Linked DNA regions of Homo sapiens: region 2 is linked to region 1. Evidence: promoter capture Hi-C in 16 types of primary human blood cells and fetal thymus (Javierre and others, 2016). All regions are on one chromosome and are shown on one strand. The core of a region is centred on a gene start or on the middle of the fragment in contact, and the rest is flanking DNA. Distances in the headings are between cores, read along the strand shown. Region 1 holds the start of GPR148 (G protein-coupled receptor 148). Region 2 has its middle 37 kb from the start of ARHGEF4.

Region 1 (5,502 bases), core at 3,002-5,501:
AGTCTGGTCTCGAACTCCCAACCTCAGGTAATCCTCTCGCCTCTGCCTCCTAAAGTGCTGGGATTGCAGGCTTGAGCCTCTGCACCCAGCCTGAGTTAAGTTTTGATTGGAGGATCCAGGAAAGGCTTTCTGTCTTTTTCTATACTCCCAACTATTGCTTTACTTCCACCCATTCTCTGTTGTTTGTTTAGCATAATCTCTTATAAATAACATATATCCAATTTAAAAGTAAATGGACAATATTGTTTCCCCACCATCAAATTTTAGTCATTTAAATTTATTGTTTTAGTAGATTTGAATTAGTTGTTTGGATTCTATCATATTACTTTATGCTTTCTATTTGTCCTGACTTTTCTATATATTTTTTCTTGCCTTCTTTTGGCTGAGTGATCTTTTCTCTTACTCATTTCATTTGTTCCTTAGATTATTTAGAGAGTGATCCTCGTTTTGTCTAGTCTGTTAGTGGTTACCTCATTTCAACTTGCATGCCTAACAAAGTCTTAGATTAATATCTCTACCTTCCTCCTGAAGACTGCTAGACTTTAGAATGCTTTAAGTACAATTACACCTTTCTGACACATATACCACTGTTATGTAATTCTTTTTTTCCATTTTTTCTAAACCGTTAAATTAGACTTTTTTTTTGGAGACAGAGTTTCACTCCTGTTGCCCAGGCTGGAGTGCAATGGCACAACCTTGGCTCACCGCAACCTCCGCCTCCGGGGTTCAAGTGAGTCTCCTGCCTCAGCTTCCCGAGTAGCTGGGATTACAGGCATGCGCCACCATCCCAATACAAAATTTTGTATTTTTAGTAGAAACGGGGTTTCTCCATGTTGGTCAGGCTGGTCTTGAGCTCCCGACCTCAGGTGATGGGCCCCGCCCCGGCCTCCCAAAGTGCTGGGATCACAGGCATTGAGCCACCATGCCGGGCCGAAATTAGACATTTTTATTGCTTTTATGTAGGCAACTAGACAATAACTATTCCTATTTATGTGCATAGTCTCCAGTGACTTTTCTATTTCTTCATACATCTCAAACCTTCCACCTGGAATAATTTTTCTTCTGCAACAAATACATCCCTTGAAGTTTTCTTAATGTGTATTGCTAGGAATACTGTCTTTCAGCTTTTGTGTTCTATCAAGGTCTGGAAAGGTTTTTCTGTATATAAAATTCTAGGAAGACAGTTATTTTCTCAGCACATTGGCAACATTATTCCAGTTGCCAAGGCTTCCATGTTTTTTGTTTGTTTGTTTGTTTTTTGAGATGGGGTCTCGCTCTGTCGCCCAGGCTGGAGTGCAGTGGTGTGATCTCGGCTCACTGCAACCTCCGCCTCCCGGGTTCAAGCGATTCTCCTGCCTCAGCCTCCTAAGTAGCTGACAGCACATGCCACCAGGCCTGGCTAATTATTATTTTTTTTTTTTTTTTGAGACGGAGTCTTGCTCTGTCGCCCAGGCTGGAGTGCAGTGGCGTGATCGCGGCTCACTGAAAGCTCCGTCTCCCGGGTTCACGCCATTCTCCTGCCTCAGCCTCTGGAGTAGCTGGGACTACAGGCGCCCGCCACCAAGCCCGGCTAATTTTTTTTGTATTTTTAGTAGAGACGGGGTTTCACCATGTTGGTCAGGCTGGTCTCTTCCATTGTTTGAGAAGTCAAGGTGAGTTTAATTGATGTTCTTTTGTCTTTTATCTCTGCCTGCTTTAAATATCTTGTCTTTGTATTTAGCTGTTTGCAGTTTCGCATCATGTGCTTCAACGTGGGTTATTGGTCATTTATCTTATTTATGATTGGTTAGATTTCTCGGATCTGAAGTTTGATATCTTTAAACAAATCTGAAAAAATCCTCAGCTGTTATCGCTTCAAATATTTCCCCTCCTACATTTTCTGTATTGTGTTCCCAAATTAAATGTATGTTAGTCTTTTCCATCCCAACCTCAATGTCTCTTAATCTCTCTTTTATATGGTTGTCTCTTTGTCCCTCTGGGCTGCATTTTAGGTAATTTATCTGGACCTCTCTCACAATTTGCAGAGTCTGTTTCCAGTTGTGTCTAACATGCTCTTTAATCCATATTAAATTCAACTCATAATTCTAATATTTTTGTTTCAAGAAGTTCTATTTAAATATTTTCCAAATTTTCTTGGTTATTTAAAAAAAAGTATTATCCCTGCTCATATTTTCATGTCATTATTAATGTCTTAAAACATCTTGAACATTTTTATATTAACCCAGTGTTGATAATTCAAGGAGCTGTGGTATGACGCTGCTGTCTTCTTGTTTCTTCTTGCTCTCATTCATGGTGCCTTATCTCCCTATGTGGTTTTGTGAGATTTGACCATGTGCAACTCCATTATTTGAGGTTCTTTGACTCTGGAAATTCTCTGCAGCCTAAGGTGAAGCTCAGATCGTCCAGGAGAACCACACCAACCACAGACTGAGGTCTTTTTACCACTAACATAATTTGAAGCCTAGCTCTAAAACTGTCTGAAGAGTGGCTTCTACTTAAGAATTCTCGAGGAATTTTCTTCTTCTACACAGCACGAAAGTCAAGGCAGGCAAACTCCCTTGCTGACCCCTTCTGTAAGGTTAGGTTATCATTTACCTTTATTGTGAGAGTGTAACCCTTGCACACTCCAGCTTTATAGTGGTATCTCCATGACACTCTCCACTGCTGTGGATCGTTGGCTTCCTTTCCTCCCTCCCACATCCTGAGCGGCTGCTCAGATAGAGCTCATGGTCCCAGGACTCAGCAGCTCTGCTTGCTTACCTCTGTGGTTCTCACTGTCAGCAACATTTTGGCTTCTGTGTGTTGGTCAGCAAGGATGCATCCACAGTGGCCAGGGAGGGTGTGCAGCAAGCCATTGGAGGGACGCAGATCAAGGCTTGACTTAGACCAGAGCCCTGCTTGATTGCCTTTACTTGCTTCCGTTTCCAAGTAGGATTTCAGTGTCATAAGAGAGCTTTCTCTACTTAAAAACTGTCAAAATGGTGAAAATCATCAGTTGAGGTCTTCTGAAAGGCCCAATTCCACTATTATATTGTGCTGTTCTAAGAAGTTAGTCATAAGTGGACACTGCTGCATTCAACATATGATTTTTAACCTCAGCTTGCCAGACTGTGGACTCAAGAACTCTAGGAAATGGTAAAGATGGCCTGGTGCCTCCTGGATGGGAGGTGGCCCCGGACCATGCCCAACAGCTGCCGGTAGCGGAGCAGGTACAGGTATGTGAGCATGGCACGGGGAAGCATCATGAGTACCTCACTGTTAGCTGCCAGGAGCCATGTGTGAGTCCCAGAGTCAATGTGGTGGTACCTGGTCAGCACCATGTCCAGGGAGAACACCACCCCTGTGCTCACGTACAATGTGATCAGCACTGAGTGGATCAGCAGGGTGCCCCTGGCCCGGGAATAGCCCTGCCCCCAGATGCCTGAAGTCTTGGCCTCTGCATAGATCCTCCAGAAACAGTTGGCAATGAGAGCTGTGCAGAGGAACAGAACGCACAGAATGGAGGTGTAGGTAACAATGACCAGGAGGCCACATCCCGGCTGGGTGCCCATGCTTGGTGGTAGGATGTATGAAGCTCCTTGCTCCTCCAGCTGGGCATCCTGCCACTTGCTGAGCCAAATAAGGAATGTGGGGAAGCAGCAGGCCACCAGCCAGATGAGGGCCACTGCCTTCCAGGCAGCCCCATGGGACATGAAGGAGAGGTAGCGCAGTGGATGGATGACTGCCAGGTAGGTGTGCAGCACAATGGCGGTGAAGGACAGGATGGTGCTGGTGCAGGCGGCGAAGACAGCATCAGTGAGAATGCCACAGGCCATGCGGCCCAGCTCCCAGCCACCCAGGCTGCTGGAGGAGATGAGCATGTGGAGGAGAATGTAGGCCAGGTCTGAGAGCAGGATGTTAGCCGGGAGCAGGTAGTGGGGCTCCTGTCGCAGCCGTTGGTTCCGCAGGATGGTCACCAGCAGCAGGGGGCTGACAGCCAGTGTGGCTGCAGCCAGCAGGCTTGAGGGAAGGAAAAGCCAGTACAGCATGGAGCTGGGCACCCTGAGGTCCCCCAGGCCCAAGGAAGTGTTGCTGGCTGCTTGGGGCATGCAGGGTGTCTTGCTGATGAGCTGGATCAGGGCCGGCCAAGCTGTAGTGCCCACAGGGCAAGGTGCCAGCTCATCCCCCATGCTTCCTGGCAGGGATGGCTGGCTTTGTCACAGGTTGTTGATTCTGCACCTGCCTTGAGTGTTGATCTGCCCCACAGGGGTCCTGATGGCACCACTCCTCTGTAGAGATGCCAGGCTCGGGCAGGCCTTAGGAATGACTGCTTAATAAAGATAAAAAAACCAATGTGAATTCAGACTCACACCTGGCTTCCTGCATTCACATCTCTGCAACTGTGCAGCTGCATGTGCGTGGGTAGACATAACAGATCATCCCACTGCCACCATTTTGCAGTCACTGACCCCTCCAGAAGTGTCCCCTATCTCAGTGGCCCCCAAACCTGTCTGCTTGGCTCACAGGGAGTGTGCAATGGATTCTCACCACACTGGATTATATTCCGGGCTGCCCTCCTAGAAAGGAAGGAGCAGCTGTCTGGAACTAGGATCGCTGGGCTGTAGACCTGGTCTGACCTCTGTCGAGCTAGAGGCTCAGCAAATTGGACCAGGCTGGAGGGGCCTGGGCGCACTCACATTTCCTCACAGAGCCTTGGGTATGGTCTCCAGCTCAGGGTGACCCTGTGCATGCGTGTGAGTGTGACTCCTACACCCCTTCCACTCAGGGCTCCATGTGAGTATTCGGTGCCCCCAAAATCTCAGCTGACTTGTGGGGTCGCTGTGTGGTAGAAACGTCCCTTCCTCTGGGGAGGAGGAGGCCTGGCAGGCAGAGACCTCATAGGAGCTAGTGGGGAGGAATGGAAGGCAGGTTCCCCAGGCACCTGGCTTGTCGGGGGTGGGGTGAGCTCAGTCAGAGCCAGTGGCCAGGGTGGCTGTTGGTGTTTGGGGATCCAGTTCAAGTGAACAAGCTCTCCCGCTCTCTCGAGGTGTTGGCTGCGTGGCCTTGAAAAGCTTTGTTCCAGTTTCCTTATCTGTGAAACACGAATGCCAACCACACTGACCTCAGGGAAACGTTGCGGAAGCCCAGAGGTAAGGGACTCAGCACAGTGCATAGCCTGAAGTAAATGCTGAGTCAATGTTAGCTCTCCCACCTACAGCATCCTCCGAGGCTCGGTCCCCTCTGCCCACAGATCCCTGTCATCACTGCAGAACGGGCTGCACTTGGCTGCTGGCAGCCTGAGACCCCTGCCCAACACCCACCGCCGGCCTGGCAGACTGCTCCAGAAGGCAGGAGCCGCGTGGGAACAGGCAGGATATTTTTAGGGCCAGGAAGAGGCAGAAATTTCAGACTCTGGGTGTGAGACCACGTCCACTGCTGCCCAGGGACCATGCTCGTCACAGCCCGAGACCACGTCCACCGCAGCCCAGGGACCACGCCCAGAACCGCCCCTGACCACGTCCG
Region 2 (5,325 bases), core at 754-3,253, 72 kb before region 1:
GATAGACCAGTGTGCTATCTTGCAGGAGGGAAAAGAAATTGAGATCCCTGCAATCTAATTTATAACATAGGGTTGTAGAGTTGACATACTTCTGAGGTAGGACAGTGGAGGGGTAGTGCTGGCCTTGCCAGCTGAAAGCAAACTGCTTCTGGTGAACCTTACAGAAAGACATGGAGAAAAAGGCATTTGTCAGATCAATAGCTGCTTACTGTGTTAATTTGCTGAAGCAGTGAAACCACAGCTGGTACAACAATTGCAATAGGAGTCACCACTTGGTTAAGCTTACAAGAAGCCACTGTCATTGTCTGAGATCTATCTCTCTTTAGCACAGGCCAGATAGGAGGGTTGAATGGGGATGTGGTGGGAATCACCACTCCTGTATCTTTTAAGTCCTTGATGCTGGTGCTAATCTCCGAATCTCTGCAGTCTCTCTAGAATGCAGCAATGCTTTTGGTTTTCTTAGGCAAAGGCAGCTTCAGTGGCTTTCATTTGGATTTGCCTATCAGAAGAGTCCTCAGGGAACCAACATGGTACTCTGCTAGCTACTAAGTACAGCCACGTATCACATAACATTTCGCTCAATGGTGGATAGCATATATGATGGTGGTCCCATAAGATTATAATACCATACTTTTGCTCTACCTTTTCTTTTTTCTTTCCTTTTTTTTTGAGATGGGGTCTCACTCTGTCGCCCAGGCTGGAGTGCAGTGGCGCAATCTTGGCTCACTGCAAACTCTACCTCCTGGGTTCAAGTGATTCCCCTGCTTCAGTCTTCTGAGTAGCTGGGACTACGGGCACCCACCACCCACCACGCCCAGATAATTTTTGTATTTTTAGTAGAGATAGGATTTCACCATATTGGCCAGACTGGTCTCGAACTCCTGATCTCAGGTGATCCACCTGCCTCGGCCTCTCAAAGTGCTGGGATTACAGGCACGAGCCACCGCGCCCGGCCTGCTGTACCTTTTCTATGTTTAGATACACAAATACCATTGTGCTACAGTTGCCTACAGTATTTAGTACAGTAACCTGCTATATAGGTTTATAGCCTAGGAGCAATAGGCTATCCTATATAGCCTAGTATGGAGGAGGCTATACCATCTAGATTTGTGTAAGTATGCTCTATGATGCTTGTACAAAGACTAAATTACCTAATGATGCACTTCTCAGACTGTATCCCCACCGTTCGGTGAGTGACACATGACAGTATGTTCCAATTATGCATTCTGGAACTTAGGAAATAACCGCATAGACTGAGCCTGGGGACCCAATGGGCCCACTGTGAGATGGACCTGAGCTAAAACTCCCTTGACCACCTGACCTCCGTAAGCCCCTGGAGGGCCACAGGGATGCTTCTGGTCTTCTGGAATGAATGTCAGTTCAGAGCCAGTGTCCCAGAGTGCCTGAGAGGTCTGATTATTTTCTTTTTCCTAGTACACAATGACCCTGGTAAAAGGTCAAAGGTCTCTCTAGGGAAGGCTGAGAGAAAGATTAACAGTAGAGGTTTTTGATAGCATACAGGATCCTTTCTGGAGGGGACTGTGCTTCCCCTGCATGGACCATGATGTTCTATTTTCATGATTCAAGTAAGATTTTTGTTAACTCGACCTGGAAGTTTTCTGCTTATACAGATTAAGAATTTAATAGGTATGAAAGTTGATCATAAATGTGTGATTCTTGTCACACCCAATTAAATCTGAGTTGAGGGCCAAGGAGGGAAAAACACTCAGGATTTATAACATCGCTTCAGAAATGCAATTTTCTGCAAGTCCAGCAGCCAAAACTGTCTATTGTAACCTGAGACCAGTTTTGTCTATAGCTTGTGGAATATCTTGCCGCCAATGTAGGGCTCATTGTGTCCACTGCTATCGTTCACCAATCAGCTTGCTAGTCCCAAAGCTTTACTAATACAAATAAACTTTCTCTCAAGACCACGAGCAACATTCCTCTATTCTATAAAATCCCCAACCTGCTCTTTGTTCTTTGGACATACTGAAAAACACCTGGTCTGTGTGTATGACCCAAATTGCAATTCTTATATCCCAAATAAAATGTTATATTTAGAGATTTGTCTCTACCTTTTAATGTTGACTTCAGTACAAGCTTCCTATCTATTTCACTTCTAGGAACGCCATAATCAACTATCCAACATCACATATTCACACAAGTCAGACTATTCTGATTGTTACTTTGTCTCTTCTGTCCATTATGGTAGTCACACCCACCTTGTCTTAGGTGGTTGAGTTCCCCTCTTGGCTCCTCCCACCCTGAGATCAGTTGCTGTCATTGCATTTAATTTTCCAATTGAGTGACTGTGGTTCCCACTGTAAGGTCTGCCCAGAGAGAAAAGCAATGAAACAGCTCTTGAAGGATGCTGGGGCTCCCCTCACAAACCCATTTCTTACAATATTGGTGAAAGGTGTGTCTGGACTAGTGTGGGTAAGTATGTCTAAAATGGCAAATCTACTCTAATTCCAATCTCTTCAATTCCCTTCCTCTACATTAAAACAAGGGATATCTGGCACCTCCAACTTGCTCATTGTAGGCCGCCTTTTAATCTGTTTCCCCTAACCAACTAAACTATTAGGTCTTTTTTACACGCCCAGGGCTGCAGCATTCAGTGCAGAATCTCTGCTTAGTGGGCCCACATCAATACATTTGGCCTGATCCGACTTTATGGTCTTTCCACCATTATCCTGCATGTTTAATGGATCCTTAAGATCCATTTCCACACATTTACTGGATTTCTGCCTGTATGAATTAGAAAACTCAAGTAGTTCTTTTGGATTGTGGCACACCTCCTCCTGGGTCCTGCTATGTCCTCACCTTTGGGGGCCTGCTGGGCCTTGAGTCTAGTTATAGGTCTAGTAAAGACAGGTGGGTCCTAAGGAAACTCAGCATTGTCTTGCATGACAACTGCCTCAGGGGAGGTCTTTATCATTTCCTCCAGCAATGCAGGGTTAATCTCCTCAGGCCAAGGCCAACACCACGAAGGGTGTGAAGGCTGCTTCCCCTGGGGATGGGGAGGCTAGTTTTGCTGTGGATGGGAAGACAACTCCCGTGGGCAAAGAGAATTCATCAGAATTTAGGAGCTCAATGTCTCCCAGTTTCATCAGGATATTCCCATACACCCCCATCCCAATTTACAGGTTGTCATCCTCTCCCAATCAATACCCTCACTTTAATAGTAGACATCCTGGGAGGCTGGGAGTTCAGCTTTTGCTGTAATTCAGCCAGTCACATGGTGAGGACTTGTGTTTGATTTTCAGCAGTTTCAACCCTGTGGCTACAGAGGGTCATCCCTCATGGTGGCCCTGACAGGGCGTGGGGGAGAGAGGCTAGGGCATCTGTGGTCTTCTTTTGGGAGATATGGGGCTCACCCTCTGCACTTTGCCTAAGCTGCATCCCACACTTTCTGGGCAACCTCCTATGTCTCAACTCCTGGCCCTGCTGTGCCCCCAGAAGGCTCCTCTTGACAGGCCACCCTCTTAGGCAGGGTCCTTTTGGGATGACTCACACCTGATACCTTGAGGACCAGCATCACTTGCAACCTTGTCTGTCCACACGGTGCACCTGAAGCGTCTCCACTGCCAGCCCTCTTCCCAGCTTTTCCAGCAACGGATGTCCATAGCCTGCCCTCCTACCCAGGAGTGGTGTCCATCTCTGTCTCAGGGATGCTACTGGTCTGTTTGCTCACAGCAGGGATGGGCCTGCGAGTGCCGGCGCTGAGCAGGCAGCCTGCAGCCCTGAGCCGGCTCCCACTTCAGGGCCATAGAGGGCGGGGAAGGGGGCAGGGCCTGGCAGAGGCTGGAGATGCTTGGATGGGGGCCAACAGCAGGGGGATGGGGGAAGGCAGCGCCTAGCAGCTATCCTTGAAATGAGTGTTTTCGCAGCCAAAGCTCAGGTGTAGGCCCACTCCCCCATGCCACGGCCTTTTGAACATGTGGAACCAGGACTCGGAACGTCCTGTTTTAAAGTGGGAGGTGGGCTGTCACTGGCAGGCGAGAGCTGCCGCCGCGCCTCTGCGAGGCTCCCCATTCCTGCGACCCTATCACATGTGGAAGGTGGGTGGGAGGGTGGTGGCGCGGTTGATCTGATCTCTGTCCCAAATAAGGCTCTTGAGGAGGACGCAGGGCACTTCCAGGGCGAGGGTGCCGCTGGGCTCTGACAAGCCCTTTGGGGACTCGTGGAGTCGTGGGAATGCCAGCTGACTCAGCGAGGGCGGCCTTGGCCACAGCAAGGTACCCTTCCCTACTTTCTGTCTTTCGTGGTGAGGCGATTTTAAAAACGCAGTCTGAGCAGCCCTTGCCATTGTCCTGCTGTGTACCCAGCACTTAGTGTGTCAGCTGGTCCGTGTGGACGGCCCAGTCCCTCCAGTGGCATCCCTACCGGTGACCCCTCCTGCCTGCACCATCGTTCCAAGTCTCAGGGCCGGCGCACAGGCGGGGCGCGGGGCTCTTGGCGCCCCTGCGCTCGGAACGGCTGCTTCCGGGCTGGGTGGCTGCTGTCGCCCAACACGCGGCCTCCGCAGAACAGTGGGCTGAGGTCGGTCCAGGACGGCGGTCCCAGCCCTAGGACCGGCGTACAGTAGAGGGCCCGGCAAAGGCCTCGGCCCAGCGGGGAAGTCGCGCCCTCCTGCGGCGCTGACGGGGACAGCAGGGCTCTCGGGCCGTCCTCTGGCTGTGCCCCGCCCCGGGGGACGCTGGGCGGACTGCGGGGCGTGCCCGGGGGCGCTGCAGTGTGTGCGGACTCGCAGTGGGTGCTCACTGTCGGCCAGAGCCAAGGCGTTCGGCCGCCTCGGCCTGAGGAATGAAGGCGCCTTGTGTCGCTTTAGCAGGCAGCAGTGACCCGTGGCGCGTCCCCGGGGACCCGACTGCGGGGCCAGTGGTGCGAAGCCAGTCCTGTGCCCGGGCCTGGTCCTCCCAGCCTCTAGGAAAGCGGATCTCGCTCTCGGTGAGATGAAACGGCCCAGGAGAGAGGCCCCGTCCCTGGCAGGCGGGTGTCCGCGGCAGCGCGAGCCATTCGCGCGGTCAGCCGGGGCGTCTTCCGGATGCGAGGCCCGCGGAGCTCGTGGGAGGTGCTGGCGCCCTGTGTGGCCCGCCCTGCGCTCCCGGCTGCGGGTTCCGAGACTGAGCCGCCGGGAGCCTCCGGAGAGACAGCTCCGCGCGCCCCCTGCTGGCAGGAGGGAGTCGCTCTATGCTGGGCCGGAGAGCAGGGTCCTCCACGCGGCAGGGGGACTGCGCTAAGAAGTCAGGCCCCGCCCCGTGGCTGGGTTTCAGGGCCACAGGCAGCAAGAGACCCACTTCTATCCACCCTGCCCGGCTT

Evidence for each region. Contacts are between HindIII fragments. The CHiCAGO score rates a contact against its expected background, and 5 or more counts as called.
Region 2: a contact is called between a fragment that was not itself captured here and the fragment with the promoter of GPR148 in region 1, in 3 of 17 cell types (total CD8 T cells, total CD4 T cells and non-activated CD4 T cells). The highest score is 7.9, in total CD8 T cells.

What each region holds. Positions count from the first base shown.
Region 1 is chr2:130,727,819-130,733,320 of GRCh38, reverse strand. GPR148 (G protein-coupled receptor 148) reads right to left here and starts at 4,251. Exons shown (of 1, transcript NM_207364.2): 1 at 2,985-4,251. The coding sequence starts at 4,169. The coding sequence ends at 3,126. RefSeq lists enhancers at 4,522-5,100, 5,101-5,502 and a silencer at 5,449-5,502. The HindIII fragment of the contact is 6,760 bases long and covers 1-5,053 here.
Region 2 is chr2:130,797,464-130,802,788 of GRCh38, reverse strand. No RefSeq gene overlaps it. Among named protein-coding and RNA genes, the nearest start is that of ARHGEF4, 37 kb to the left of the region's middle. RefSeq lists silencers at 4,535-4,784, 5,095-5,244. The HindIII fragment of the contact is 204 bases long and covers 1,902-2,105 here.